Linked DNA regions of Homo sapiens: region 1 is linked to region 2. Evidence: promoter capture Hi-C in 16 types of primary human blood cells and fetal thymus (Javierre and others, 2016). All regions are on one chromosome and are shown on one strand. Each heading gives the region's core, a stretch centred on a gene start or on the middle of the fragment in contact. The rest is flanking DNA. Distances are from core to core; before and after follow the strand shown. Region 1 overlaps TMC7 (transmembrane channel like 7). Region 2 holds the start of CEP20 (centrosomal protein 20).

Region 1 (2,700 bases), core at 89-2,588, 3.2 Mb before region 2:
TTTTAAAAAATGCACAGTACAGCTGGACACGGTGGCTCATGCCTGTAATCCCAGCACTTTGGGAGGCCGAGGCAGGTGGATCACCTGAGGTCAGAAGTTTGAGACCAGCCTGACCAATATAGTAAAACCCCATCTCTACTAAAAATACAAAAATTAGGCCGGGTGAGGTGGCTCACACCTGTAATCCCAGCACTTTGGGAGGCCAAGGCAGGTGGATCACCTGAGGTCAGAAGTTTCAGACCAGCCTGACCAACGTGGTGAAACCCCACCTCTACTAAAAATACAAAAATTAGGCCAGGCGAGGTGGCTCACGCCTGTAATCTCAGCACTTTGGGAGGCCGAGGCAGGTGGACCACCTGAGGTCAGGAGTTCGAGACCAGCCTGGCCAACAAGGTGAAACCCCGAAACCCCGTCTCTACTAAAAATACAAAAAATTAGCCGGGCGTGGTGGCAGGTGCCTGTAATCCCATCTACTTGGGATGCTGAGGCAGGAGAATTGCTTGAACCCAGGAGGTGGAGGTTGCAGTGAACTGAGATCACACCACTGCACTCCAGCCTGGGCGACAGAGTGAGACCCTGTCTCAAAGGAAAAAAAAAAAAAAAAAGACTGGCCATCATGGTGAAACCCCTTCTCTACTAAAAATACAAAAGTTAGCCGGTTGTGATGGTGGGTGCCTGTAATCCCAGCTACTTGGGAGGCTGAGGAAGGAGAATCAATTGAACCCGGGAGGTGGAGGTTGCAGTGAGCTGAAATTGCGGCACTGCACTCCAGACTGGGTGACAGAGCAAGACTCTGTCTCAAAAAAAAAAAAAAATGCACAGTAGACTCTTACAAACCCTTCAGCAGCTTCCCATCCCACTCAGAATAAAACTCTAAACAGAGCCCTCAAGGCACTGTGACTTGATGACTCTGGTTGCTATTACAATATCACCTTGCCTCTTCCCATCACTCACCACCCTGTGGCCACACTGTCCCCTCCCTCCTGTCCCCCTGAAGTGCCTGGCTCATTTCTTTACTGTGCTCTTTGCCTCTTACTTTCATCCTTAAATAGGACCTCAGATAATGGGCTCCTCTCTCTATTATTCAAGTCTCAGCTAGGGTCCAGGCATAGTGGCTCATGCCTGTAATCCCAGCACTTTGGGGAACTGAGAGGGGACAATCACTTGAGCCCAGGAGTTCAAGACCAGCCTGGGCAACATAGGGAGACCTCATGTCTATAAAAAATTTAAAAATTAGCCAGGCATGGTGATGCACGCCTGTAGTCCCAGCTACTTGGGAGGCTAAGGTGGGAGGATGGCTTGAGACCAAGAGTTTGAGGCTGCTGTGAGCTATGACCACACAATCGCACTCCAGCCTGGGCGAGAGAGTGAGACCCCGTCCTGAATAAAAAAATAAAAAAAAATCACCTCCTCAAAGAAGCCTTCTACAGCCGCATCTGCAGTAACTGATAGCCCGCTTGTCACTCTACCTTGTTTTTATTGTCTTCATAGAAGCTATAATTAATCAGCATTTATCTTATTAACTACCCAGCAGCTTTGTCTCTTGTTCACCAAAGCGTCCCAGCACCCAGCATAGTACAAGGCACAGAGTAGGTACTTAATACACATCTTTTTTTATTTTTATTTTTAAGATGGAGTCTCACTCTGTCACCCAGGCTGGAGTGCAATAGCGCAATCTCAGCTCACTGCGACCTCCACCTCCTGAGTTCAAGGGATTCTCCTGCCTCAGCCTCCCAAGTAGCTGGGATTACAGGTGCCCACCACCACGCCCAACTACTTTTTGTATTTTTAGTAGAGACGGGGTTTCACCATGTTGGCCAGGCTGGTCTTGAACTCCTGAGCTCAAGTAATCTGCCTGCCTCGGCCTCCCAAAAGTGCTGGGATTACAGGCATGAGCCACCACATCCCCCTTAATACACATCTTGAAGGAATGGATGAATCAGTGAATTAATGAAGCTGGACGCGGCTGGGCCTCAAGGCAGAGTTTTGGGGAGGTGGTGGTGAGAGAAGGCTGCAGTAATTTCACTCCCTCCCAGGAAAACAGCACTTTCCTTGCAGTGTCCTGGGTAAATGTCCCCAGCCATGACCCTCTGGAGCTATGCTTCCTTACCAGGGATAGCTGCTCTCGGAGCTGGATGACCACCCGTTTGTGTGCTCCAGCTAAGGCAATGAAGTAAAACATGATGAGGCTGCAACACAAGACAGACAGGTCACAAGGGAGTCTGGATCATCTGAAGGCCAATAGAAAAATAACCCAACATATTTTTCCTTGGAACAGTTTTACTCTTGTTAGAAAAGAAGGCTGGGCATGATGGCTCATTTTATAATACCAGTGCTTTGCCCAGGCAGAAGGATCACTTAAGGCTGGGAGTTTGAGACCAGCCCAGGCAACATAGGGAGAGCCCCACCTCTAGAAAAATAAAATATGGCCGGGCGCAGTGGCTCACACCTGTAATCCCAGCACTTTGGGAGGCCGAGGCAGGCGGATCACCTGAGGTCAGGAATTTGAGACCAGCCTGACCAACATGGTGAAACCCCGTCTCTACTAAAAATACAAAAGTTAGCTGGGCGTGGTGGTGGACGCCTATAATCCCAGCTACTCAGGAGGCTGAGACAGGAGAATCCCTTGAACCCAAGAGGCAAAGGTTGCAGTGAGCTGAGATCGCATCACTGCACTCCAGCCTGGGCGGCAGAGCAAGC
Region 2 (2,700 bases), core at 38-2,537:
AGGGGGTTTCACCAGGCTGGCCAGGCTGTTCTCGAACTCCTTACCTCAGTCTCCCAAAGTGCTGGGATTCCAGGCGTAAACCACCGTGCCCTGGCAGCTCTTAGGTGTACTTTTTTTTTTTTTTTTTTGAGACGGAGTCTCACTCTGTCGCCCAGGCTGGAGTGCAGTGGTGCCATCTCGGCTCACTGCAAGCTCCACCTCCCGGGTTCACGCCATTCTCCTGCCTCAGCCTCCCGAGTAGCTGGGAGTACAGGCGCCCGCCAGCACGCCCGGCTAATTTTTTGTATTTTTAGTAGAGACAGGGTTTCACCGTGTTAGCCAGGATGGTCTCGATCTCCTGACCTCGGGATCCGCCCGCCTCGGCCTCCCAAAGTGCTGGGATTACAGGCGTGAGCCACCGCGCCCGGCCACTCTTAGGTGTACGTCTAATCGATGTTTATTATTTAGCCAAGTGTTTGGATCTCACCGGCATTACAACTGGAATCATGCAACCTCACACTCAGTTTAGGGTACATTATTCCCCTGTTCCTTTTCCTTTACTTCCATGGGATGTTGGAGCTTATTCCTTCATTAGTTAGTTCCATAAAAAGCTCCTGGACTCCTTACATGCACTGTGTAAGTGCGAGTGGAAGAGGACAGGCTGGTGACCTTGGTTAAGTCTCTTCAGCGATGGAGGACTCTGTTTCCTTCATTGTAAAAACGGCGTGATCATAAGGAAATAATGCGCTAAGGCGTCACAGTAAGTGCTTAATACAGTGGTTCTCGAGGTGTGATCTCCAGACCGACCAGCAGTACCAGTACCACCTGGGAACTCGATAGAAATGCAAATCCTAGGGCCTCACCCCAGATTTACAGAATCAGAAACTCTATGGGGAGGACTAGCAAACAATCCGTTTAAACAAGTCTTGGAGGTGATGAGGATTCATGCTCAAGTTTGAGAACCGCAGGGTTAATAGGTGGTAACTACTAGCAGTTGGTACTTGAGGCTGCAGAGACAATGAAAAACTCAGCTGGCTAAAGTTAAGCACTAAGGTGCCAGCAGCACCCCACAGGGCTCTCCACTGCCTCAGTCCCCGCCCTCCCTGCCGTCTCACTCAACTGGGCCTTCCGAGAGCGCTCGCTGATTGGTGGAGTCTCTGGTCGACATTCACTACCCACTCAACCGCAGAGCTCATAAACTGAGAGGGGCGGAAGTGGGCGGGGCGAGAGCTGTGCGCCTATTGGCTACAGACCACGCCGCAGGGTGAGTGGGGCGGAGCTGCGCGTGCGCAGGGCCGCGGTGCGGCCCTGGCGGCCGTTGAAAAATGGCGACTGTGGCAGAGTTGAAGGCTGGTGAGTGCGAGCAGGGAGGCCTCCACATGGGAAGCGTCGGGCCTTCATCTTGTGGAAAGGATGGGATGGGAGGAGAGCGCGCGGAACACATGGGTTGGCTTTTACAGGCGTCATTCTTCGGTGTGAGGGCCTGCGGGGAGCGTCTGGCTGCTGTCTTGGCCCGTGCGCGGGGAGCTCTTATGGGGAAGAGGTTGCCCACTGGCGAGTTTTAAGCCAGTTTGGAGCTAAAGGAGGAGTTGCGTAATCTTCAGGCATCTAAGAGGCCTACAGGCCTGCATCTTGGGCCCCTGGCTCATCTTCTTGGACCCTGCCGGGGGCTGGAGGACTTGGACCAGGCTTGGCACTCAGGGCTGATGACTACAATTCCCACAACCCCTATTGGGTTAGGCACTGCCCTAAACAATTTGCTTGGTTGTCTCGTTGGGTCCTTACAACAACCTGTTAAGTAGCCCTCCCCTCCTTGCTTTTTTTTTTTTTTTTTAAAGAGAGGGTCTCTCTGTCGCCCAGGCTGGAGTGCAGTAGCGCGATCACAGCTCACTGCAGCTTCGAACTCCGGGACTCCAGCTATCCTCCCACCTCAGCTTCCAGAGCAGGTGGGAATACAGGGGCTCTTCACTACGCCCGGCTAATTTTTGTATTTTTTGTAGACACGGGGTCTTACTGTCGAACTCCTGGTCTCAAGCTATCCTCCTGCCTTGGCCCCCTCAAAGTGCTGGGATTACAGGTGTGAGCGCCTGGCCCCTTTTTCATCAGAAGAAACTAGAGGCAAAAAGTTTGCTGGCCTGGCCATTCTCCTGTCTTTTCAGGAAAAGATACTCTAAGCTAGTTATGTTTGAGTCATTAATGACATTTGTACGCTGTTTACTTTGAAGCAAATGTCCAGACAAGTAATAGTAATAATAGTTATCATTGAGCCTCATGTGTCAGGCACTACTCAACTCAGCCTGTGTGTTACCTGATTGTAACAACCCTATGCCCATTTCATAGACTGGGAAACGAGGTACTGAGAAGTGAAATAGCTCAAAGTGATTTCACTGGAAAGAGACACAGCATGGGAACCTAGTTGTGACGCACTGGAGCGCCAGGTCTTAATCACTGAGCAAGATTGCTGTCCAAAAAATAAAACCAGTTCCACTTTGCAGGGAACCCAGGGTTTAAACTAGTAATTCTTAGATATTTTAGGGAGGAGACGTGTATAAAAGTGTGTATTTGGGGACAGGGCTGGTGAACAATCATAAAACAGAACAGGCATGCATCTGTCCACAAGAACAGACTTCACGAGTCTACAGATGCTGTTCCCAGGGAAATACACATCACATGTAATATTGCATACATTTTCAGAGGATTTAAAGGTACACTTGGAATGGG

What was found. Contacts are between HindIII fragments. The CHiCAGO score rates a contact against its expected background, and 5 or more counts as called.
Region 1: a contact is called between a fragment that was not itself captured here and the fragment with the promoter of CEP20 in region 2, in 1 of 17 cell types (fetal thymus). The highest score is 9.6, in fetal thymus.

Annotation. Positions count from the first base shown.
Region 1 is chr16:19,058,905-19,061,604 of GRCh38, reverse strand. TMC7 (transmembrane channel like 7) reads right to left here. Exons shown (of 16, transcript NM_024847.4): 15 at 2,111-2,189. Among named protein-coding and RNA genes, the nearest start is that of COQ7, 7.4 kb to the left of the region's middle. The HindIII fragment of the contact is 3,685 bases long and covers 1-2,700 here.
Region 2 is chr16:15,887,190-15,889,889 of GRCh38, reverse strand. It overlaps CEP20 (centrosomal protein 20), which reads left to right and starts at 1,287. Exons shown (of 5, transcript NM_144600.4): 1 at 1,287-1,332. The coding sequence starts at 1,305. The HindIII fragment of the contact is 7,894 bases long and covers 1-2,700 here.